Regions from separate parts of the Homo sapiens genome. Here region 2 is linked to region 1. The links are contacts of gene promoters, found by promoter capture Hi-C in human tissues and cell types (Jung and others, 2019). All regions are on one chromosome and are shown on one strand. Each heading gives the region's core, a stretch centred on a gene start or on the middle of the fragment in contact. The rest is flanking DNA. Distances are from core to core; before and after follow the strand shown.

The links. Contacts are between HindIII fragments. The study calls those that stand out against the background at their distance.
Region 2: a contact is called between a fragment that was not itself captured here and the fragment with the promoter of FRZB in region 1, in 1 of the 25 tissues and cell types used here (H1 embryonic stem cells).

The regions. Positions count from the first base shown.
Region 1 is chr2:182,864,386-182,869,339 of GRCh38, forward strand. FRZB (frizzled related protein) reads right to left here and starts at 2,252. Exons shown (of 6, transcript NM_001463.4): 1 at 1,690-2,252. The coding sequence starts at 2,167. RefSeq lists an enhancer at 1,415-2,383. The HindIII fragment of the contact is 7,330 bases long and covers 1-4,954 here.
Region 2 is chr2:182,718,814-182,723,589 of GRCh38, forward strand. It overlaps DNAJC10 (DnaJ heat shock protein family (Hsp40) member C10), which reads left to right. Exons shown (of 24, transcript NM_018981.4): 4 at 1,194-1,356; 5 at 3,212-3,262. Among named protein-coding and RNA genes, the nearest start is that of DNAJC10, 4.9 kb to the left of the region's middle. The HindIII fragment of the contact is 5,084 bases long and covers 1-3,800 here.

The DNA.
Region 1 (4,954 bases), core at 1,002-3,501:
CTAAGTGCCTGGCAAACCAGAGCGGCAACTGCACTGAGCACTTCCAGACTCTGCAGTCTGTGACTTTAGTGAGTACGAAGCCTCAAGCATGCTCTTTTAGCAAAGATTAATAGCAAATACATTTCTGTGATGATTTTGCACAACTAGCTTTTGGTTCTTGATTAAAATCAAGAAGACAATAGGTATATTCAAAAAGTGATAAACTAAGTGAGGTCACCATTAAAAAGTTCTTGAAATTCTTCTGTTTATTTTTTTTCCTTCAGCTATTTTTACAATTACTTCTCCTTCTCTCACTTTGTTAAATGAGTCAACGTGCACAGAAGGTAATTTTTCCAAATCAATTTCCCGATAACTAAGAATTACTACCTGGAAATGGACTGGGGACATGCGCCTAGACTGCGCAAGTTGAAAGAGGAAGGAAAGTTGATGCCCAAGAAATAAACAGATGGAGGCAACCAAGTCAACACATCTAAGAACAGAGTTGTTGGGGGGTGGGGGATGTGGTATGAAAGAGGACCACTCATGAAAAAAAATTGCCTTCTTTATAAAATATATGAAGGGTAAAATTTGAGGTTGGGTTAGTTGGTAGAAGTAATACTGAGTTAGAATTAAATGGACCATAATGAAGTAGGTTTAGTTGGGGTCTTAAAGTTACAAATGTCATAATTAGACTAAACACTAGTGAGAAAACAACTTGTGATTGACTCCATTAAATTTAGAGCTGCAATAAAGTTTTATGGTAGGGAAAGACTGAAATGACTGTGGTTGGTGCACACACGGAAAAGGAGCATGAAATAAGGTATTAAAGACAATTTTTTTTTCAAAACATGAGAGTGGAATAAGGGGTGAGATTTAAAATAACATTACGTGAGTGTATGATAACACGCCTTAAATATAACTCCTTTCATCTGTATGCCACTTATAAAATGACTTGAAGGCATGTGGGCATGTGAAAAGAGCTCAGTAATTTCAGTCTGCCAGCTCTATGGCAAGCCACAGAAGCTAATTAACAGTGCATAGCAATGTTTCACAATTGTTTCATTCTGGAATGGAAGAACAATTTATCTCATTGAAAGGAGGGGGAAATTTAAGGTGAAGGTAATTGCTCAAACTGGATCTTGAGCAAACACATACCCCTAACATCTGTCGGTTAGAGTAAGGTTATTGAAATTATCTTGGCATTTTTAATTAGAAGAAAATGGGGCTTCAGTTTTCTGTTTCCTCCACACAATCTTAACAAGCATCTAAGACACTAAAGATACAGAAACCTGATGACTGAGATTGCCTGAGAATCAGCAAAGAAAACCCAATGATTATAAACACATTTTAAAAGAAAAAGAGCATCACTTTACAAAATGTGGCTACTTGCACATGTAAGGAGTTGAAGTGAAGGATTCCTGTGGAGTAGAAGTGTGATGGGTTTGGAATGCATGGATTGTTTTAGAAAGATCGCCTATTGGAACACAGTGCCAGAGTGCATCAGTTTGGAAGGTGATAAGGTGAGGGTTTTTTTGTTTTTGTTTTTGAAAAAAGAAGAAAGAAGAAGAAGGGTCTTTGATAGAGGAGCAGTTATGGGAGAGATTAAGTGATCCGAAGAGAAAAAAATTAGAGAGTAAAGGCTAGTAACAAGGACTCCAAGAATTGAGGAGGCTGTAGGGTAAGGGAAGGGTGGGCCGTGTCAAAACTCACCAGCTCCGTCCGCAGTAACGATGGCCTCGGGAGAGATGCACACGCCCCTGTCGTACACTGGCAGCTCCTCGCAGGCCAGGTTCTCCGGCCACGAGTGGCGGTACTTGATGAGTATGGGCTCACAGCCCTGCCGGGCCCGCTCGCACACAGACTTACAGGGCTTGATGGGCTCGTGCTGGAAGTCAATGGTGCAGATGGGCGCGTACATGGCACAGAGGAAGAAGAGCAGATCGGGGCTGCAGTGGGTGCCCAGCAGACCTTCGAACTGCTCGATGGCCAGGATGGCGTTGGCCTGAGTGCTGTGGTGCAGGTGGTTGGGCATCTTAGTCATGTTCCAGGGCAGGGACTTGCACAGGGGGATGCGGACGGGCTCACAGGCTGCAGCCCGAGCCCCGGGCACCCGGAGCAGGCAGAGAGCAGCCAGGGCAAGCAGCCCGGCCCGCAGCAGCAGCATCCCTCCCGGGCTGCCGCAGACCATGATCCCGGCAGGATGGGGCAGGGTGCAGCCGCGCAGTGGACGCCAAAAGGCCCGCTCCGCCGTCTCCGCCTCCCCCGCTGCAAGTGGACACAAGGATCTGGGAGCTTCTCCTCCCCCGGCAATCACCGCTTCCTTGGATCAAATTCCCCCAATGGGGTCCCACGAGCTTTACCGAGCTCCAGCCACCGCCCCTGCCGCCCAGGCTGCTCTTTCCCAACGTCTAAGCCTTCGGAAGCAGCAACATCTATTTATTCCTCTCCCTCTGGCAGAAGCATCAGACTTCGCAGATCAGTCAGATAAGAGGGACACGAGAGGAGGCGAGGAAGACATAAAAACAAAAGTAGAATTCAGCTGAGAGCTAGTTGGAGCTCTGGGGTGTCTCCTCCCCTAGATCACGCACACAAAAAGATGCTAAAGAAAGCATTAAATTCCCCAAAGTGAGGAGGACAGAGGGGTTGGGGGGAAGGAGGGAGGAAAAGCTCCTAATGGGAGAGAAGGGTGCAGTAAGAGTTTACAAGTCCTGTGTGGGCTAAGAGCTGCGGCCGCCGCTGCGGCTGCGACCCTGGCTGGCAGGAGGGACGCTCAGGAGGAGCCCCGCAGGGACGTCTGTGCCTCTGCCCGGGCGGCTCTGCACTTTCCTACCTCCCGCCTGAGAGGGAGCTCCGCCCCTGGGGCAGTCTCTGCCCTCCAGTGCCGGCTGCTCTTCCCGAGAATGGAGTGGGCGCCCGGGGAAGAGAAGGCCTGGGAGTCGCAGGCGGTGGGGTGCGAAGCCGTGCGAGTGCGAGACCCCAAGACAGCGCCGAGTCGAGCGCGCCCTCACACTAGGGAACCCGTCTTTGGCCCCAGAAACGAGCCCCTAGCCCCTCACTGAAGAGCCCACCCCAATTCCCTACGGAAAAGTCCCCCTAGTTCCCCACTTGGGAACCCACCCGAGACCCTCCTTCCTGGAGGTATTTCCTTTAAGCAAACTACAGCTTTTCCTCTGCAATCACTGGCTCTGCAGAAAGTCAGACCTGGTGGGGGGAAAGGCTTAAGCAATGTCACTTTGTCCAAGTAGCGGAAAACACAGACCCCTGCGAGCAACGGTGGAGCCATATCAACCCAGAGCTAGTGACTACAGAGGTCTCCATTTTCAATAACTGCGGGGGAGGAGGTGGGGGGAGGATTGCCTTTAAAAAAAAAAAAAAAGAGAGAGAGAAACAAAGAAATGCTGTTCATGACTACAAATAGGCCACCAGAAGCAAGGAAAAGGGGTTTTTTCCTTCTATTCCCGCCCCCCCCACCTAGTGGAATTAGAACTCTTGAGCTTTGCTCCTTAAGGGTTAACGTGGAAACTAACAGCTCTAATACACTTGGACTTTTTTTTTCTGATTTTGCTCACGGATAACATGGCAGATATTATTTGTTATTCTCAGCAACAATTCTGCCCGACACTTAAAAAAAAAGTGTAGGAAAACGACATCACGCAGGTAATAATGATGATTATAACAACAATCAAAACCTTTCCATCCAGATGAGTTCAATCTGGAGGAGAAAATGGAAAACAGATCCCCTCCTGGTCTGCTTCTTCCACTAATGAGCTCCCTCTTCCCCCCACCCCCGCCCCACTCTACCCTTTCAGCTTATATTGTAAATGGAATGACCTGCAGAGGCCTTCACACTATGCCCTCTCAATGGGAAATCACTGAGCAAAAGGATTGCCGAATGTCAGAAAACACAGCCTTCATTGAGAGGAGAAGGAAACAAAACCTGAAACAAAACAGGAAGTCACCTTTGCTCTGCATCACTGAAATATTTCTCTGCTTCAATTTAGCCATCTCTCACCGTCCATAACAAGCAGAGAAATATGTCCCCACTTCAGAGCACATAGTGAGATGCTCATTTTCATTCCCTAGAGTGACTTGACAGCACTTATAAAATGTCAATGCTAACTTGAGTTATGGAATTTTATATCTAAAATGATCATAAACAGCAGTTTGTGACTGCTGTAAATTTTTTTGGAAGGAAGTTTGTTCCACTTATGGTGGCGGGGGCGGGGAACACCAGATGGTAGACAGGGAGTCAGTTAGTATACAAACTTTGCCTGGTCTACAATTATCTAGTGTCATGTAAGAGAACAAATTCAAAAATTGTACAAACGAATTTAAAATGATTTATCAAGTAAAATTTAGAGGAAAAACAACTTTAAAAGACAGTCAACATTAGAACATTTTGGGACTATTTTGTATAAGAAAAATATAGCTGAGATTTTCAATAATTAGAAGAAAAAACATCAGGAGTAGATGTAGTAGATTGTTTGCTAAATACATTTTTCTGTTCATCTTAAGTCTTACAGTGTGAGAAGAAATGTGCCAATAGTTTTAAAGGTTCTACAACTATTTGAAACAAAGTCTGTTTTCCTTCCCCTGCACAAAAGTCAGCTATCTTCTTTGTCTAATAGGTCCCCTTACAACTTTAATCCAAATTTGTTTTTATAAAAGCCCAAAATAAATGTCACTGTCTTGAGGAAGCCCTTTTGAGTACCTTGTCTAGTTGTGTTCATTTTTCTGGTTAGTTACCCTTGAACAGTGTTTGTTTTTACAAATTATTCCTTTATTTATTTATTTATTTATTTTGAGATGGAGTTTTGCTCTTGTTGCCCAGGCTGGAGTGCAGTGGCACTATCTTGGCTCACTGCAACCTCCACCTCCCGGGTTCAAGAGATTCTCCTGCCTCAGCCTCCCTAGTAGACTCACAAGCTCCCCACTTGTGAGTCTCCAAAGTCTGTTATACCTCTCAAAGATATGC
Region 2 (4,776 bases), core at 9-2,508, 150 kb before region 1:
TGTACACATTAATGTAAATCTTTCAAAACTAAACTCATTTTAATTTTTATGGTGTTTTTGTAATTTATTTGATTATTTCTTAGTGAGATTTAGCGTTCATCATTAACAAGAAGACATAGTTATAATTTTCTCTTTTCTAGGTAGAAGTTTTAAAATAGGATTATTTTCATTGCATAAAGCTGAGCAAGAGAAACAATATTTCTTTAAATATTGTTTAGTTGATTATCTTTTCCTAAGATCCACATTCTATTTAAGGTTTTTATTTTTTTTTAATTTTTCTTTAAAATTTCAAATAATGATTTTTAAGTTTCCATATAAAAGACAGTAGACCTTCTACCATCCGAGTATTATTTAAATGAAAGCATCCTTCAGAAACAAATTTTATGAAGCACAGTAACAAGGAAGAAACATTTCCGATCCAATTTTGGATTGTTTTCTTTTTTTTTTTTTTTTTTTTTTTGAGATAGGGTCTCACTCTCTTGCCCAGACTGGAGTGCAGTGACGCCAGCGGCTTCCTGCAACTTCTGCATCACAGGCTTAAGCAATTCCCCTGCCTCACCCTCCTGAGTAGCTGGGATTACAGGCGTGCGTCACTACTGCCCAGCTAGTTTTTGTGTTTTTAGTAGAAACGGGGCTTCACCATGTTGGCCAGGCTGGTCTCGATCTCCTGACCTCAAATGATCCACCCTCCTCAGTCTCCCAAAGTACTGGGATCGATTTTGGGGTGTTTTCTGATACTGGCTTTTATGTAATTAGCTGATAGATTGGGGCACATCCTTTTTTAATTAAGTTGATTTTACCTCAAATAGAAAAATAACCTACAAATGTATTGATTTATAATTGTTATAGGAGTAAAAAATATTTATGAAATTAAGAGTTTCAACAGGCTTATTATTTTCAGCTGCATTTTTTAGGAAGAATAACTCATGGTCTGATAACGTCTGTCAACCTTTTGAAGAGTCAATTATTTCATTACTTTTCTTACTTTTTTTTTTTTTTTTTTGAAGATTATAGTTTCTTAAAAAATACTTCATTTCAACCCATGGTAACTCATGTCATGTTGTATTACCCCTCCTTATGTTGGTATATGGTCTCCCAGAAGTTACTAGATTAATTAAACCTACATATATGTTTTGAAGAAACTTGGATTGTGTATCTGAAATAATTGTATTATATCTAATATTTTTTAACAGAATAACCCAAATGCACATGGCGATTTTTTAAAAATAAATAGAGCATATGAAGTACTCAAAGATGAAGATCTACGGAAAAAGTATGACAAATATGGAGAAAAGGGACTTGAGGATAATCAAGGTGGCCAGTATGAAAGCTGGAACTATTATCGTTATGATTTTGGTAAGGTGATACGATATTACTTATGAAATGTGTTTTATCTGAGTAAAAGAAAAGTGAATTCTGTTTCACCACTTAGCTTATATATTTAAGATGCGTCACTTTGATTAGCTCCTTTTAATTTGCTGTGGGAGTGAAATTTAAAAGGAATGTCAGTTGGTATACAGAGATGATCTGTACAGATATGAAGTTGTATTGGTTAAATCTTGTTAAATACTTTTAAAATAAGGATTGCTATTTAATAAAAAATATGCATTCATGGACTGCATAATGACATTTCACTTAACAATGGATTGTATGTAGGACATTGGTCCCATGAAATTATAATACCATATTTTTACTGTACCTTTTCTATATTTAAATACAAAGATACTTAGCATTGTGTTACAGTTGCCTATGGTATTCAGCAGTAACATGCTGTACAGATTTGTAGACTAGGTGTGTAGTAAGCTATACTATCTAGGTTTGTGTAAGTACACTCTGTGATGTTTTTGCAACAACAAAATTCCCTAACAACACATTTCTCAGAATGTGTCCCATTAGTAAGTGATGTATGACTATATGTTTGCATTAGGGGTAGCTAAATATTTCTTTCAGTATTTTTTAGTATTGAATAATATTAATTTCTTTCAATATATTTTAGAGCATCATATTGTCCAAGAAAGGCGAAACTTCAAGTTTAGTAATGATCTCTTCAATAGAAATGCCGTCCTTCTCATATGGAACCCTTACTGATTTTTAAGGTGTTTTGGCCTTCGGTTGACATTAAGGTCAATACCTTGAAACATTATCAATAAAGGTTCCATATGAGAAGGACGAAAGGTGTTTTTTTTCTTAAACATGGAGGAAAAAATAAGGTGGAAGGAGGAAACAAAGTAAAGGAACTAAGGAAGAGAGATTGTAAACACACAGGTATCAAGGGAGGAAGGTGTGTTCAGAGACCCAGTGTTTCTCCTAGTCATTAATTAACCTCAAATGCAGGCTAAGAACTGAATATGCTTCTGTATTAGACTAAATGAAGTATTTTAAATTTATATCTGGAGGATTTGCTTTTAGTAAATATGATTTTTTTTCAAAATAGTATTTTCAAGTATATTCTCTACACCTTGATAGTCTATATCAAGAGTTAGCAGACTGCATTTCATAGGCCAAATCTGGCTTGCCATTTGCTTTTATAAATAAGTTTTATTGGAATGGAATTACTTTAATTTGTTTACATAATATATGTGACTTCTTTCACACTTCAAGAGCAGAGTTGAGAAGTTGTGATAGAAGCCATACATCCCACAAAGCCTAAAAAATGTATATTTACTAAATATTTGTGTCTGCCTCTGCAAATACTCTAAGCTTTTTAGCAGAAGATATTCTAACATGATACCATGTGTTAAAAACCATATAATCTGAAAATCAAATGAGGTCTGTAGTCTAGTTAACAGTGTACCACTCTCAATTTCCTGGTTTTCGATATTGTGCTATATAGCTACATAACATGTCACCATTAGAGGAAGGTGAGTAAAAAGTATACAAGAGTCTATATTTTTGCACCTTCCTGAATCTGTAATTATTTTTAAAACCATAATATAAATTTTATATGGAGGTAAAATTATGTGAATATTACGAACTACCGCATACACATCTATGAGAGTCCATATCAGAATTCTAATATCTTTAGATCACCCTAAATGTACTGATAGTATTATTTACTTTTTTTTCACTTAGGATGTTGCATATTCTCTAAGTTTGAGATATAATATAGTAGTTTGATTTTTTTGATGATTAAAACGAGTAATCTATTTTTATGTTGCAATTTATATGGTGAAGTTTTGATTTTATAATTTTTATATACTTTTAAAATTAGGTATTTATGATGATGATCCTGAAATCATAACATTGGAAAGAAGAGAATTTGGTAAGTTTGTGGGCTTAAGGTTTTATAAAACTAATACAAGTTCGATCTCATCTAAAACTCTAGGGGATATATATGTTTGAAATTTAGAAATCTTTTGGAGTTTCGAACAGTAATAATGTAATATACTGTATCTTAAATATTTCTAGCAGAATGTGGGGAAGTGTACCATAATAAAAACATTAATATTTATGTAGCAAAATGTGTAAGTATATATACTAAATAAAAGAAATTTAAAAATCAGTTCAGATCAGGTTTGGATGCCAAGTGAGCTTGCTGCAAACTTACAGCAAAACTTCTCAGAGCTTTTTGATTTTAGAGTTTTGGATAAAGGTATAGTTATTTTGGAAGTAGATTTAATTTGATTGGCAACTTTGTGTGAAAATGGCCATAAAAATACAGTTCTGCATTTTCCATTGCATTTTAGAAAATTGTATACCAGAATAGATTCTTATACTTTCATCCTTTGTACAGTAATAATAGGTTTATTTTTTCTATTTCAGAGCAATAAATTAAACTTCAAATCAAATTTCAATTTTATATTGCTCTATCACAATTGTATTTAATTTAGAAAACTAAAATACAGCCAGGCGCGGTGGCTCACACCTGTATAATCCCAGCACTTTGGGAGGCCAAGGCAGGCAGATCGCTTGAGATCAGGAGTTAGAAACCAGCCTGGCCAACATGGGGAAAACCCTCTCTACTAAAAATACAAAAATTAGGTGTGCCTGGTGGCACGCACCTGTAATCCCAGCTACTTGGGAGGCTGACGCACAAGAATCGCGTGAATCTGGGAGGCTGATATTGCAGTGAGCCATGATGGCACCACAAAAAAAAAGAAAACTAAAATAGCGTACCAGTCGCAAAAAATACATATAAATCTATATGTTTTTCATATATTATCGTTAAAAATTTATTACAGCTACTTGATTTTATACAGTTTGTTCCTTCTAAGCAAGGGTGGCTTTTTTTTTTTTTTTTTTTTGAGACGGAGTCTTGCTTTGTCACCCAGACCAGTGTGCAGTGGCACGATCTTGGCTCACTGCAACCTCTGCCCCCTGGGTTCAAGCGATTCTCCTGCCTCAGCCTTCTGAATAGCTGGGATTACAGGTGCCCGCTACCACACCCAGTTAATTTTTGTATTTGTATTTTTAGTAGAGACAGGATTTCACCATGTTGGCCAGGCTGATCTCGAACTCCTGACCTCAGGCGATCCACCCACGTTGGCCTCCCAAAGTGCCAGGATTACAGGCATGAGCCACCACATCTGGCCAAGGGTGGCATTTTAATCTTATTTTCTACATCATGCTGGTGAGCTTCACATACAAAATAGCTGTTCAATGTGTTACTTTGTTAAAAGCCTTCTAGGTGAACACTTGAACATGTTCTAAGTGAATAGAAAATACATCTTTCCTGTGTTCTGCAAATAAGACAATTTGATTCATTTGGATTGTTAATAGAATTAATGCTCATGTCACAAGCTGGTAGAATCATAACTCTCGTGTGAGTTATATAAA